2 separate regions of the Homo sapiens genome follow, and region 2 is linked to region 1. The links are contacts of gene promoters, found by promoter capture Hi-C in human tissues and cell types (Jung and others, 2019). All regions are on one chromosome and are shown on one strand. Each heading gives the region's core, a stretch centred on a gene start or on the middle of the fragment in contact. The rest is flanking DNA. Distances are from core to core; before and after follow the strand shown. Region 1 holds the start of GRIA1 (glutamate ionotropic receptor AMPA type subunit 1). Region 2 overlaps LINC01470 (long intergenic non-protein coding RNA 1470).

Region 1 (7,322 bases), core at 2,345-4,844:
TACATGAAGCATTGCAGGGGCTAAAATGCCAACTGCTGGAATCACTCAGAAGCCTCTAGAAATTTTTCTTGGAGGGCTTTCTCTTACAAAGACGAATGGCAACTGAAGTCATTTTTGCAACACCACCACCTACCCACAGGCCCTCCTTTCATTGGTCTAGCGCAGAAAGACATCTCAGAAATAGAAGCAATTACTTACATCTATAGGTCATCTCAAAGCTGTCGCTGATGTTCACAATATCAATCTGGGGGAGCAGCTTCGGGGGCTCTGTGAGTTGCGACAAAGCAAATCTAAAAGCAGCATGTTCCTGTGACTGCTGGTTTGGAAATAATCCCCCTATGAGAAAAGAAAATGCAACATGGTATATGGGCTAGAGACAGGTTTTAGTTCCTCACGACTCACTCCAGATGAGTCCTTTTCTTCTCCCCATGCCAAACTCACTAGCTGTAGCCTTGAGTGGTAGAGATGAGAGTTCAAATAGGCTTAACTGGACACTGAAACTTAAACTCCTACAGATGAGCTTTTTTGTGACATGGGCCTCTAATATCTATTACTTTGCTCAAACATTTGATTGTGTACCCCTCAACTCAGCTAAAGTCAGAGAAAACAGGAGACTTGTGCCATTTCTCTTCTTCCTCCCTTGTGCAAACCACCTAGGAGCTGCTATTCTCTTATATAAACATACACATAAGCCCCCTCACCCTCTAGTCATGTCTAATTTTTCTTACATCAGCCTCATCTCTCACCAGAGAGCCTTACGGGAAGTAGGTACTAATCAGTGCTGCAGGGTGATTGAAATCTAGCTCTGGGACCCTGTGGGCTTCTCCACTACTATAACTGTTTACATGGACAGTTTTTAGTCTTTGGCCTAGCAAGACCTGCATGCAATTTAACTATTCTATTGCCCCTAAGGTTTATTATTCATTTTCTCTAAAAACTCTTGCTTTTCTGCAAACAATGTTTTGCTTACTCTTTCACCACACATGATCCCAGTTACCTAGGAATGACTTGTTACATAAGGGATTGCCATTGTGTGTTTGCATGGTGGAACCTTGTGCTTCAAAGATGTGGGATCTTAGGCATCTCAAGAGGATACAAACATTCTATTCTAGTAAAAGGTATAGTAAAGGTGCCTGATGGGATGCCTGTTCCGAGAAACAAGAGTCCATGGCTTACCTTTGTATTTACTGTCAACATGTAAATCAATTACATTTCTGTGAATTAAAATCAGCCATTTCTAGAGACTGAACTATAATGATGTTTACATAGAAGTTTATCTCAAATCTGACAGTAATCACAGTCCAAACATAATGCACTTCTAACTTCTTGTAGAGTGGGTGTCTGTTTTTAAGAACCAATAAATGGATTGCAAGCCTTTTGTTACAGATCACACAAATAGAATCAAGTACTACCTGATGGCAGTGATATTTTCAGCATTTTGTTCTACAATTTAATGCTTCAATCTCTTTTTTTTTTGAAAACAGTAGCAATGGCTTTATCAGTTGAACAACCAAGTTAGGGCTAAATATAATTTTAAAAATATGCAGAGATACATGAGAAAACATAGCACATACATGAAACATCCTCATGCATTTATACCATTTACTATATACACAAATATACTAGACAAACACTTCCAAGCCACAAAGGATAGGTAGTATATAAGCACAAATGTAAACAATGCCACATGTAAGAGCCAGTGATTTCCACATGTACAAGTGCTCCCATTTTAAAGAATGAAAACAAAAAAAATTCTTGATTATGATGCTCCCCCTTCCCCCCAGATGACCACACCCCAAACACTTCCCTGTCCCCTTTCTCCTCCTCTGCAATGAATGAAAGAGAAAGGATGGGAGGTTGAGGAGTAGAAGGCTACGGGCTGGGCTACAAGGGAAGTGTCTCCCCTGAAGGCAGGAAGTTTTGCGTGTTAGGCACTAACACACAGATACGTACACACTTCAGGATGTAGCTTAACAGGTGTCAGGAAACAAAGCAAGTTACTCCATGGCCACTCCAAGCCGCCAGCTAGCTGGAGAGGCTGAAAGAGATGGGTACTGCAGCACATGTATGCCCGACAAAATATCAATTGCACCACATCCCCCCTCAAACACACACTCACAAAAGAGCACAAACTCCCAGCAATGCGAACTTTCCCTAGTGGAGCTATCTCCCTACCAGGGGAGAGAGACTAGAAACCAAACCAACGAAGATGCTTCCAAACACAGCAGCTTGCTTCATTCCGGGACACAAACGACACTGACATGCTGGTCACACGGAAGCCCCAAGCCCTTGTGGACATGCTTTGTGATTGGTGTTATTGCTTCTGTTTGTTTTGCTTTCCCTCATGATTATCAGGAGTAGCAATATCTGTCAGTCCCCTCAGAAATACAGGGAGGGTGGCGGGGCCTTTGAGAAGTGTAACAACTAAGAAGGGGAAATGGGGAACAAAAAAAGCATGCAGCATGTTGAAACCTGCCTCCAAGTTGAGAGGATGGAGCCCAGTAACAAGGATAATGGAGAGCCAACAGGAGGAGAAAGGAGCATGTGTACGTGTGTGTGTTTGTGTGTGTAAAAGGTAGACCTCTGTGGATAGGAAATCTAAGAGGAGGGGGCAAGGAAGGAACGGAGAAAAGGCAGGCGAGGAAGTTCCAGGATCGGGGGAGTGGAGACCACCAGCGCAGCATGGCAGACAGCAAAGAGAAGGCAGCTGGAGGAGTCCAGAACAGGAGAGGGAGCCTACCCGCCTTGGAGTGGGGGCCTTCTGGCATTATTTCAGTGGCTGCAATATACCCAGCACCCCTCACTCCTTCTTCTCGAGGGTCTCTTTTCTGTCCCCCAGCAGAGAAAGCACTGCCTCCTTCAATTACATATATATGTGCATATGTAATATATAATCACACACGTGAAAACACACACACCATACATACTTACATTAAAAATGGAATCAAGCACCATCTACCAAGCAATAGAGTTAACTCCTTAAACACCCACCACCCTTTCCAGCCTGATTTTTTTTTTCCTCCAAAGCGATGGTTCCTCCATTTCACATGCTCTTGCCTGGAGTGCGAGTAGGGTATGTGTGCGTGTGTGAACACTTCCCCTCTGCCCCTCATCCGATCAGGAGAAGCCCCCTCCTCTGGCTGTAAGCCCAAGTCTCCCTTCTGTTACCGCAGCACAGCTTTAGGGAGCCAAGCAAAACAGTCAGTACCGGGGAGGGGGTACACAACCCCTATCCCCAAAAAAATCCCTGGCCAGACCCAGAAAGTCCCTCCCCAGGCTGCCCCCTCACTCACCGATCTGGATATTGTTGGGGAAATTGGCACCTACTACCGCGCCTAGGAAACCGGTGCAGAAGAAGGCAAAAATGTGCTGCATATTCCTTTTTGCATTGGCGAAAAAGAAGCCCAGGTCCAATCATAGATTTGGTGTTTCCCCCCCTTTCCCTTTATTCTTCTCGCTGTTCTGCCTGTTCTTTTCCTCCTGCAGTTCCTTCCTTGCTTGCTTGCTTCCTTCCTTTCGTGAGGTTTGTCTGTTTCCCTTGGAATCCGAACACTTAAACTGCAGCGTTAACACCAACTGACAGCCAGATTAACTGAGCACGGGAAAAGAAGCCCGTCCTCATGCTAGCTGGAGCGCTGGCTCCCCCACTCCCTCTCCTCTCCCCTCGCAGCCTGCCTCTCTCTCCCTCCCTTGCTCTCTCTCGCTCTCCCCCTCACACTCACACAGGCAGCAAGCTCTATGCTAATACCCACCGAGCTAGCTTGGAGTTCCACAGCCGACCTCCCTACCTGTTCCCCCTTCCTCCCATCCTCACCTTATCCTCCTTTCTGTGTGTGCAGAAAGGTGGAGGTGGGGGTGTGTGACACGTGGCACTTGGTCCTGAAAGGGGCAACCCCACAGTCCTCTTTACCCTCCCCTGCCTTTCTGAGCTCGGTCTGCCCGCTCCCCCAGCCCCCAGGCTGAAGCTGCTGGGAATGTGGGTTCAGCTGTAAGTCAGTAGGTGGCAGGGGGTCCCCACAATAGTCCTCAATCCACCAGCTGCTTGATCTAGGTCACTTTTTCTAGGAGTGCATGGGCTGCGCTGGATATATCTCCTGCACTCCACTGGCCCAATTATTCCTACAACTAATTCCTGAGGGAAAGACCCTAGAAATCCCTCCTAGGAAATTTAAAGGAAAAAAAAAAAAAAGCTTTCTCTCTCCTAATGGAAGGAATGACAGATAGACAAACAAGGGAGGATCTGGAGTGACTGGCAGGTATTTTGACCAGGTATTTGACAGTCCCTGTCTACCTTTACAAGTGAAACGGTGGTCTCTTTTCAATCCTAGGCATTTAAAATGGGCCCCCTTCTCTCTTTCCCTGCATTCCACAGGAGTCTATAGCATCAGAATCGTGTGGGTGTACAATAAAGACTAAGGATACTTACACAGAGCAATTACATGAGTCATTTTGCAGGGATTCTAGTGAGAGGATTCAAGCTTCTTTCAGGTCTTTCTGGATGCTGGTCATGTCTGGTGTAAGCTGGAACTTCATAGACTCTCCTAGACCAGGGCTTCTGCTGAAATAACCTGTAGAGAGATCAGCTGTGTTCAGGATAGTAGTGTTAAATGCAAAGCAGCAGCCACTAGCCGCCACAGAATACAGTTTTTGAAGGAACTTTACAGATTTTTATCCATCTATCTTCACTCCAAACCTGTAAAGTGGCCATGAGCCCTGTTTTACAGATGAAAAAGATAAGACTTCTGGGATTAAGTCATAAAGACACAGACCTACTAAGATGTACAGTACAACCTACAAACTTGAGTGCTTTGGCCGTTACCAGTTGACTTACTGCCCTGGCCAGGACTCCTGTCCAACAGGAGATGATCCAGGAAAAGGAAAGTCAACTTTGTCTTTAGTAAGAAAGAAATAATAGACTTTGGACTCCATTTTGCTTTGCCATATGAATAGGCCATTTTATCCACAGACTCTTCACTTCCCTCACCAGGACTGTATATCATGTGGACTTGAGTGACAGCTACAAGGACTGGGATTTGTAAAAAATATCTGACCATGTACAATGAAGCCCCAAAATAGGAACAACTTGGAGGTCAAATGCTTTGTGATTTCCTATGCACTTTCACATATATTAATTAATTAGCTAAAATAATTTTTAAGGCTAATGTTTATTCACTATTTTGAATGTGCCAGGTACCATGCTAAGAAATGCACCTGCATCATTTATTTGTACAATACCTGTGTAGGTAGCCTCATGCCCATTTTATAGATGAAGAAACAGAGGTCTAAAAACTCACCCCAAGTTTTCACTGCTAATGAAAGAGATTGGGCATTTAAACACAGTAAATGCCACCATCAGGCCCCAGCTCTTAACTCTTAGGCTCTAATAACAGCAAGCACTGGGTAGGAACCTTCTAAAGGAAGAATAAGCATCAGCATAGGAAGATGAGAGAACAGAATCAGGAAAGATCACTTCTAAGGTCTCTGCCAACATTAAGAGTCTCTGATTTAATGATTCCATCTTTTAATTTCTCCATTTTCAGTTTTTGTATCTTACTACTTTGAATAGTACCTGGGGATCTTTTAGGTTCCCTAAGCTTTGTGCCTGGTAATAATAATAATTAGGCTGTCATTAAAGGCTTCACACCTTGCAATCACCTTTTAGAGGAAGCTCTTTAGACCCTTTACAAGCAAAACCTCAATGTCCCCCTGCATTAGGTAAGATTTGTTTTGCATACTTTGTAGGGAGGGGACTTTTAAGGGAGTCAAAAAGATGAATTTTCCATGGTCATTATAAATCATATAGTCAAGCAGATCTTCCTAAAACAGAGGTCTACGTCATTGCCCTGCTCAAGTATGGTCAATAGCTCCCCTTGGTCTATTAAATACATAGTTGTTCACTGATTAAATATAGAACTTACATATTTCAAGTGTAGGCATCTAGGTCAAACTACATTAGGTTCAATGTTTATTCCATGTTTCTTTATAATTCTCTTCATTTCAAATGTTGGTGGGGAACCTATTCTGTATCTCACAGGGTGCCAGGTGCTGGGCAATATGAAGAGGAATCAGACACAGTCTCTGCCTCAAGGCAGGTGAATGTGGCAGAAGAAGAAGACAGACGAACCCGGACAACTGTCACCCAGAAAGACCATGACAAGTGCTCTAAAAGATGTAAACACAGCAGCGGGGGAGCAAAGAAGGATGCAATCAGTGTGTCTGTCTGTGGGGATCCAGCAAGGCTTCAAAAGAACTGAGCCGTGAAGGATGAGGAGATTATAGGCAGTAACTGAGGACTGGGAAGGACATGCAAACCAAGGAAAGAGCCCCAGCAAAGGCTGGGGGCAGGAAAGAATGCCACGTGCTCTGTTAGCCTGGAGCCGGCAGTGCATAACTGGGAAGAGTGTACTGGGGAACTTGGAACTTAGAGGAAGTCAGTGTCAGGATTTGGAACCCACTGAATTCCTGGTGGACCATGATGAGCCATGGGGGCATTTTTAGTATGCTAGTTACAATAGCGGGCATGTGCATGAGAAAGAAAAGATTGACCACTGGTAGAAGGTGATTTTCTCATTTCCTCATCCTCAAAGGTTAGAACTACCTACCAAACAGCTTCATTTCCCTAAATAACTTATTTGACGTCATCCTTTATTAGCTCATCATGCTGTCTCTCTTTAGAGTCCCCAGTCCTATTTGCCATTCCCAAAGTGGCAAAGTCTTCAAAGTGGCTACATGATTAGCTTAAGACAGTGGTTCTCAACTGACAGCAATTTTCTCCCCCAGGGGATATTTGGCAAAAATGTCCAGAGATGTTTTTTGTTCTCACAATTATGGAATTGTACCCCTGGAATCTCATGGGTGAAGGCCAGGGATGCCACTAAACATCCTACAATTCACAGAGCATCCACCCCACAAAAAAGAATTATCTGGTTCCAAATATAAATAGCATTGAGGCCAAAAAACCTTCCTTAAGGGGACTAGTGATTGGCATGCCAGGGACTGGGCACCAGGACCCTGCAGCGTCCCTCCCATTATATTACACTGAAGAAAAATTAAGTTGATTATCTTTTAAGACTTTTCATATTTTAAAGTGGGATATCTGAAGATGGGTGCTCATTAAAGTCCAGCAGTTAAGTATCTAATGGAGGAACTCCAGGTGGCTGACATCCCATTGGAAAAGCCTCCAAATGCTGCTCAAATTGTGCTCTAGAGACAGCATGGCACCTACTCCTCAAATTAATTATGACCCATCCCAGCTCATATTTTTGGCATACTTTAAGTCCTCTTACCATGTAGCCAAAACAGTCTAAGATTTACTTATTTTG
Region 2 (7,161 bases), core at 1,102-3,601, 680 kb after region 1:
AATGTAACAGATGCCTGGACCTGTGGCGTTTATAGTCTAGGAAGAGTAATACAGAAAAATGTATACATCAAAACATCATTTGTTTATTCATATTTCAACCTTACTTGACCCAGAGCTCCTTTTTAATAACAAATATTTCATAATGTTTTTCATATCCTGATATGAAGCTTATAATATAAACAACTTTGATGCATACTTTGATCAAATCAACATTTTCATCAATGTTAGAAACAAGAGCTCAGAGTTTCAAGGAAAATGAGCACTCAAACAAAGGATTTCTCAGTAAGGCAAATTTACTTCTTCAGAAGGGTGCCACTTGCACTTTTGGCTGCTGTGAGAGCACACCAAACAAAGGAGAGAAGGTGTTTTTATTCGTAATGCAGTCCCTATCCCTGTGTCCTTCCCCTATTAGCTAGGGTTGGACTGCACAATCTAGGCTGACCCTGGTTGGCTGACTTAAACTTTTCCAATTAAGGTAAACGTTCCATCTGCAAGGGAGGGAGGCGGAAGGAGTGGTCCCTCTGCTACAGCACAAGGCATGTTCGGACATGTCTGGGCAAGTCAGGGTGCACAACGAGAGTGGGAGGGCTGCTAGCAGGCTAGAAACAAGAAAGTACAAGGAGGTGAGGCCTCTGAACCAAGGACAAGGACATTACTCAATTAAACCCTTTGAAGAGGAATTCACCATCTCTGGTAATCAACAAAATCATACTTTTATAAAATCCAAATATAAAAAGTAATACAAAAAGATTCATTTATAATACAATTATATTATTTGTTACCTTGATACAGTATTCTACAACACATGTACTTTTTCTTTATCTTTTTTTTTTTTTTTTTTTGAGAGAGATGGGCTCTCACTTTATTGACCAGACTGATCTCAAACTCCTGGGCTCAAGCAATCCTCCTGCCTCGGCCTCCCAAAGTGCTGAGATTACAGGCATGAGCCACCCTGCCCAGCCACATCTACTTATAATGAACAACATGTTTAGATTTGAGAGAAATATGACAATAAGACAATATATATCTGAATATAATCAATACTTTTTATTATAATTGCTGTTTCAAAATTGAGGCTTAACATACACATTTAAATTCATAATGACTGTCAAAGCTACAAGTACCTACTGATATTGGTGTATCATTAGCAAGACAAACAGAACGTCAATACTGATGACTGAATGCTTTATTGAAATAGTGAATAAGTCTTGATAAAGTTATGAAAAAAAATATGATCTTCCCTTGATTTACCTTACAGTTACATTCCTAGAAAATTTCGCATAACACCATGCAAAAATGCCATTTGTTTATGTGTAAAATTTACTTAGGTTCTAGGCTCAGATTATCATAAACTGTATTTTCCACCTCCCGAGGGCCTGGCAAGGTATTCAGAAAGTTTGGGGGATATAGGACAATTTTTCTTAGTATAGGTCTGATGAATTGCAAGATTTCTAACATCTCTGATCTCACTCAGTAAAAGCTTGTAGCATCAAACAGTTGTAATACCAAAAAGTTCCCCCTTGGGATGAAGCTATCCTTGTTGAGAATCACTGACTAAATTAAACAAATTTATATACTGATGGCCTGCCAGGTTCTAATCCTGTTTTTAAAAGAAAATGAAGCCCTTATTTCTGAGAGGATGAGTTAACAATGTTGACAGTGATGCCAGAGCATTTGGGAAACACTCAGGAGTGTAGATGGGTTGCAGAATGAACCTTAGTGTGACCCTTTGACAAACTTCCCATCCTGGCCTCCTTCCACTGTTCAGCAGAATCTGTGTGGGGTATACATGGCAGATTCAGAACTCAGCTCCTTGGGATTAGTCCATTTGAAGAAGTGTCCTTCTCTACTGGAAAGTCTTCTGAAAATTAAAATGCAAGGTACTTATACTAACAGGCCGGGCGCGGTGGCTCATGCCTTTAATCCCAGTACTTTCGGAGGCCGAGGCGGGCAGATCACGGGGTGGCAGATCACGAGGTCAGGAGATAGAGACCATCCTGGCTAACACGGTGAAACCCCATCTCTACTAAAAATACAAAAAATTAGCCGGGTGCGGAGGCAGGCGCCTGTAGTCCCAGCTGCGCGGGAGGCTGAGGCAGGAGAATGGCATGAACCCGGGAAGCGGAGCTTGCAGTGAGCCGAGATAGCGCCACTGCATTCCGGCCTGGGCGAAAGAGCGAGACTCCGTCTCAAAAAAAAAAAAAAAAAAAAGCATACTAACATCACACAAACATTAGAAATACATAGTAGACTAAGAGACACATACATAAGTGTATCTGAAAATGAAATATTTTTGTTAAGCTTCGTAAAATATTTCCCAAGCTTGAATAGATATGCAGGAGGGAGAAAAGGAAGTTGCAGAAAATTTAAATCCACAAAATCATTCAGCCTACAATTTCGAATCTATTTCAATTAACGAACAAATATTTATTAAATTCTATGTGTGTTTCTCTATACTACTCATTCTTTTTATTTTAATCTTTTTTTTTCCTTTCCTAAATCATAAACTCTTCTGTGAAGAAACCAAACTTCTTCTGTAGCTTATATTGTACCTAGCATGACTCTTGACACAGAGTAGAGATAACATTATTTGCTTAGCCCAGTAGTTCTCAGAATACATCAGAATCACTGGAAGACAGAGTTTGATTCAGTAAATATAGTGGGGCCTGGAAATTTGCATTTCTGAGAAGTTCCCAGGTTATGCTGCTGATGATGATTCAGGGGCTACGTTTTGAGAATCAATGACTTAAAGCATAACATTGTGGTAAAGAACTCAGGCTCTAAAACAAAATGGGCATAGGGTTGAATTCCAGCTGCACTGCATATTAACTCTGTCCCCTTGGGCCATTTACCTAATTTCAAAGCCTCAGTAACTCCTCATTTAATTAATGGGAATGATAATATTTATTTCATCAGTTTTGTGAGCACTATGTAAGTAACACACATTACGTACTCAGCAGACATCAGTTATTTTTATGGAGCTTTCTCTACCAAGAAAGGGCTTTGGGTTACTTAGAGAAGGTATTATTGCACGGTGTATATGATGAATAAGTATTATAATGGAGGAATTCTAGGAAACACTTCAACTTTGGGTTTAATGATTTTCCCATGGGTCTACCTGAATTAGGGAGGTCATTCAGAGGATTGTAATGTGTGGTGGGTTGTGGGGGAGAAAGTCAAGTACCCATTTAGTTGGTAATTAAAATATTGCTGAAGGACTGGCTGTATTTATATGAAAACAGCTCAATTTGCCTACAGCATAAAGTCGCTGTCTGGGAAGAAATGTAATATTCAAACAGCCTGTAATCAAAAGAGCTACTCCACACCTGGGAAAAGCATCTTGGTAATTTTGTGAGTAGGACAAAAGCAGAAATCAACAAATGCTTTTCTTTACAGCAGCAACAATAATGGTAATTTTAAGCAGCTACTTGTTTTTTTCATTTTTTCTTCATTGTGATGATTCCTTTGTTTGTCACTGAGCATAGGAAGTTGCAAGGTTTAAGAGTATAGCTTGTGTCCTCATGAGATAAAGGAATCAGGCCCTTTCAGAGAATGGCTTGTATGCTCTGAATATGATACTCACAGTAAATTACCAGTTAGCCCTGGAATGAGCCATCTGGATTACAGTCTCATGTGGCTGGGGAAGAATTTAGGGTGGTCCAGTCTCCCCTGCCCTCTTCCGCTGTTTGAATGCCTTCTAATGATTTCCTGCCAAGCTGTCCAATGTATTCTTCAATGCTGTTAGTGTCATGTGACTCATCTCCAAAAGAAGTTTAATCTGACCTTGACTAGATTTTACTGTAAGAAATTTCTTTCTATTGAGCTGAAAACTGAATGATCTTTTCAGATATGTAAAAGCAGCTACTGGGGCCTACCTGAGTCTTTTCTTCTCTTGACAAATGTTTTCATGACATTGAAGACAATTACTTTAGCAGTTTAGATATAGGGTAACTTTGGGTTTTAGTCCTAGAATATATCATTTACATTTTTTTTTTTAGTTGACATCCAGAGAAGTTAAGAGCTCAGGCAAACATCACCTAGATATGACTAATATTTACCTCCCTCTTATTGTCTTCATTTTTTCTCTGTCCTTTCCATTTAGGTTTCCTGTAGGCTCTGGAATGAAGGCTGTAGCATTCTTGGAGGCATCCGTATTGGATAGACTTATTCACCTATTCATTTATCAAAGAAATATTTATTCCTGAACATATTCTGTGTACATAGATTATGTTAAGGGCTCTGGGTCTATAAAGATAATAACAAAACCCAGGAGGCAATTAGCTTTTATTTGTATATTAACTTGACATCACTAAAAGTGTCTCTCTTGAGCTTCTTCATTGTTCAGTGGGAATAACTGATTATTAACAGCTGTCATGAGTATTGTAGAAAAGGGCTTCCATCCTCATTTTGGTGTTCAGTGTATGTGTGTGTGGACCCTATTCTAGGCCCTTGAGGAGTCCATAAATATGTTACAGGTAGTTAGATAGGTGTGAGCGGGGCAGGAGAGGGCTCTCCCCCAACCCACTGGGAATATCAGGTGATGGTTCAATAACTATCACACTACATCTCTAAAGCCAGGGAGAGGACATTTCCTGATTATCCATAGCTATTAACGTTAAAGTGTGAATTGAATATGGATGCCAGGGAGAAAAACTTCCTGGGTATGTGCCTTAACAGACAAGATGATGAAGCACAACCTTCCTAGTACACTCCACAGGAAAAAGGAAGAAAGCCTCAGATGGGCATGTGTACACCTTCCTAAACACACTGCCCCTGCTCAATTCTTAAGGGTAAGGAGGGTACTGAGCATTTGGGAAGCCCATCCTAAGGGAAGAATCATGGAAAAGAGGTGAGCCTAGAAAGCCCTAGGATCAAGGTTAAATGCCCCTTTTTCTCTCTTTGACCTTCAGGAGCCCTCTTGGATCTCTGCCAAGTGAACCTTTTCTTTCATGTTCTGAAGCCTTTTTAAATAAACTTCCACTCCTGCTCTGAAACTTGCCTCAGTCTCTTTTTCTGCTTTATGCCCCTCAGTCAAATTCTTTTTTCTGAGGAAGTAGGGACTAAAATTGCTGCAGAGGCCTACAGATATGCCACTGGTAACTTGGGGTAACTCGGATCTCTTCCACCAGTAACGAATACATACCAAATAATACTAGACATGGGAAGTGCTGCTGGAGGAGAGAAGGAGGAGGTCACCATGGGCTGAGAATACTTTATGAAAGAAATGTGCCTTGAATTTGCATGGGTAGATGCAAAAAAGGATGACATTTCACACAAAAAGAGGAGCAGAAACAAAGGTATAGAGAAAGGAAAACCTGTGTTCGATTTGGGGCAAGGAATAAATTAATAGATGATTTTTCTAGAAGAAATGGTCAAGGAGAGGCTTAATAAATAGGAATGATATCAAACTAGAGTCAGGATGTCCAGAGAAGCTTTTGTGTAGTTGTAGTAACTGTAAAGACTAGCAATAAGATACAACAGGTTCTTCTCATTTTGCCACTAACTTTTGGCAAGAGAGACAGAGGCCATGTTTATATCAGATGTGGCTAAATTCCAAGCCAATATATGCAAGTTCACATTGTAAGTATAGAAAGTAGTTTATTCTACACAAAATAACATGAATCTAATGCCATGGCTATTTTCAGAGCATCACTCTAAGAGTGTCTGCTAAAATAATAGTGCACATAAATGAAAATATGCTGGAATGTTAAAAAGTCTGTCGTATAATGTTGAGCTTTTACTGCAAGACAGCAAGTTTGAAGTGTCCCTGGAGCATGTATTCTCAATTGGGGCAATATTGACACCAAGGAGGCAAAAATTAATTCTTGGTGGTGAGAAGGGGATCCTACTCTTTATGTGTAAAGTACAGCTGTACATACTATATATAAATAGATACACAATATATCTATGATCTTAACATTTCATAGGGAAACAATTAGGGGGAAAAAGTCCAAAGGGTTCCTTGGGAGGGGATAATAACGAAGAAAAGATTGAAAAGCAAGGCCCTAGAGAAAAGCCAGGTAGTCTAATCCATATTAGGCATGTGTCAACACTGGGTGCATTCTTGGAGCTCCCAAGAATAAGCCAACCTGGATGTTTACTGTGGCTGCTCTTTGTTGTGGGGGCACCATTTTCCTGTTTTTATAGCTGACTTCTTCTGGTTGACATACTACTTTTTTAGGTTTGTTGACTCTAGTGTCATACCTGGTTTGTTGATAAGAAGTCAAGATGACTTTACATCCTTTTGCTCTAATCCATTTTTTATTGTTTAGCTTTCAGCAGACGGTGTTGTTTACATCTGGGTTGTAAGACCTCTTCACGGTATTCCTCTAGGAATCTCACTACAATGACATAACTTCAGAGCCTTCTTGGGAAACACGGTTGGAGGACCATAATGTTCTCAGTGTGTGGATTGTGTACCACAAACAGATTATAGGCCTCCACTCATAACCACTGAGTAATTTGTGATGGCAGGCCTGGGGAATCTGTACTTTTAATAAGCACTTTAAGTGATTCTCACTGCTGCTCAATTCTGTTTTGAAAGGAATGCTCTGAGGCAGCTCTTGAAGCAAGATTTTCCTATTGCAGGAAGAATGATGGGACCTTCCTTCTTAGGTCATGATTGAACCAGTGGATCCTAGTCTCTATAGAAACTGTATTTTTGTATTTAATGTGAATCCTTCAGTATGTCAATATTTATCCTCAAGAATTACTAGCAAAGTTGTAGGGCGAAAGGTTTGTTGTCATAAAATCTATCACCACATTTCATTCCAAAATATGTAAATGTCTCTAAGCAAATGTATCCTTCAGCTAGATGGAGAAGTCCTTTTAACACTATATCTTTGAAAAATTATGTTGGACTGATAGAAAAACTTCTGGGCCAGGTGTCTGAAATTTAAACACCAGCTCTGTAACTAGCCTGATTCTGCCCTTAAGCAACTAGTTGAGCAGATTTGGGCTATAGTCACCAAATTGGTTAAAGCAGGATAAAAACTTCCCTAATTATTTGGCAGAATATTTGGATATTCAAAGTAAGGAACTGTTGCTAAGGCATCACGAAAAAGTAAAAGGAATTTACAAGAATATAAGATATTATTATTATTAAAAACTGACTCCCAGATGTAACCATGCTTGTGATAGGTAAAATAATTTTTCCCATGT

What was found. Contacts are between HindIII fragments. The study calls those that stand out against the background at their distance.
Region 2: a fragment that was not itself captured here is called in contact with the fragment with the promoter of GRIA1 in region 1 in 1 of the 25 tissues and cell types used here (dorsolateral prefrontal cortex).

The regions. Positions count from the first base shown.
Region 1 is chr5:153,486,942-153,494,263 of GRCh38, reverse strand. It overlaps GRIA1 (glutamate ionotropic receptor AMPA type subunit 1), which reads right to left and starts at 3,594. Exons shown (of 16, transcript NM_000827.4): 1 at 3,294-3,594; 2 at 199-336. The coding sequence starts at 3,375. The HindIII fragment of the contact is 6,455 bases long and covers 613-7,067 here.
Region 2 is chr5:152,805,557-152,812,717 of GRCh38, reverse strand. All of the region lies in intron 3 of LINC01470 (long intergenic non-protein coding RNA 1470), which reads left to right. Among named protein-coding and RNA genes, the nearest start is that of LINC01470, 160 kb to the left of the region's middle. RefSeq lists enhancers at 385-644, 1-1,053. The HindIII fragment of the contact is 3,053 bases long and covers 825-3,877 here.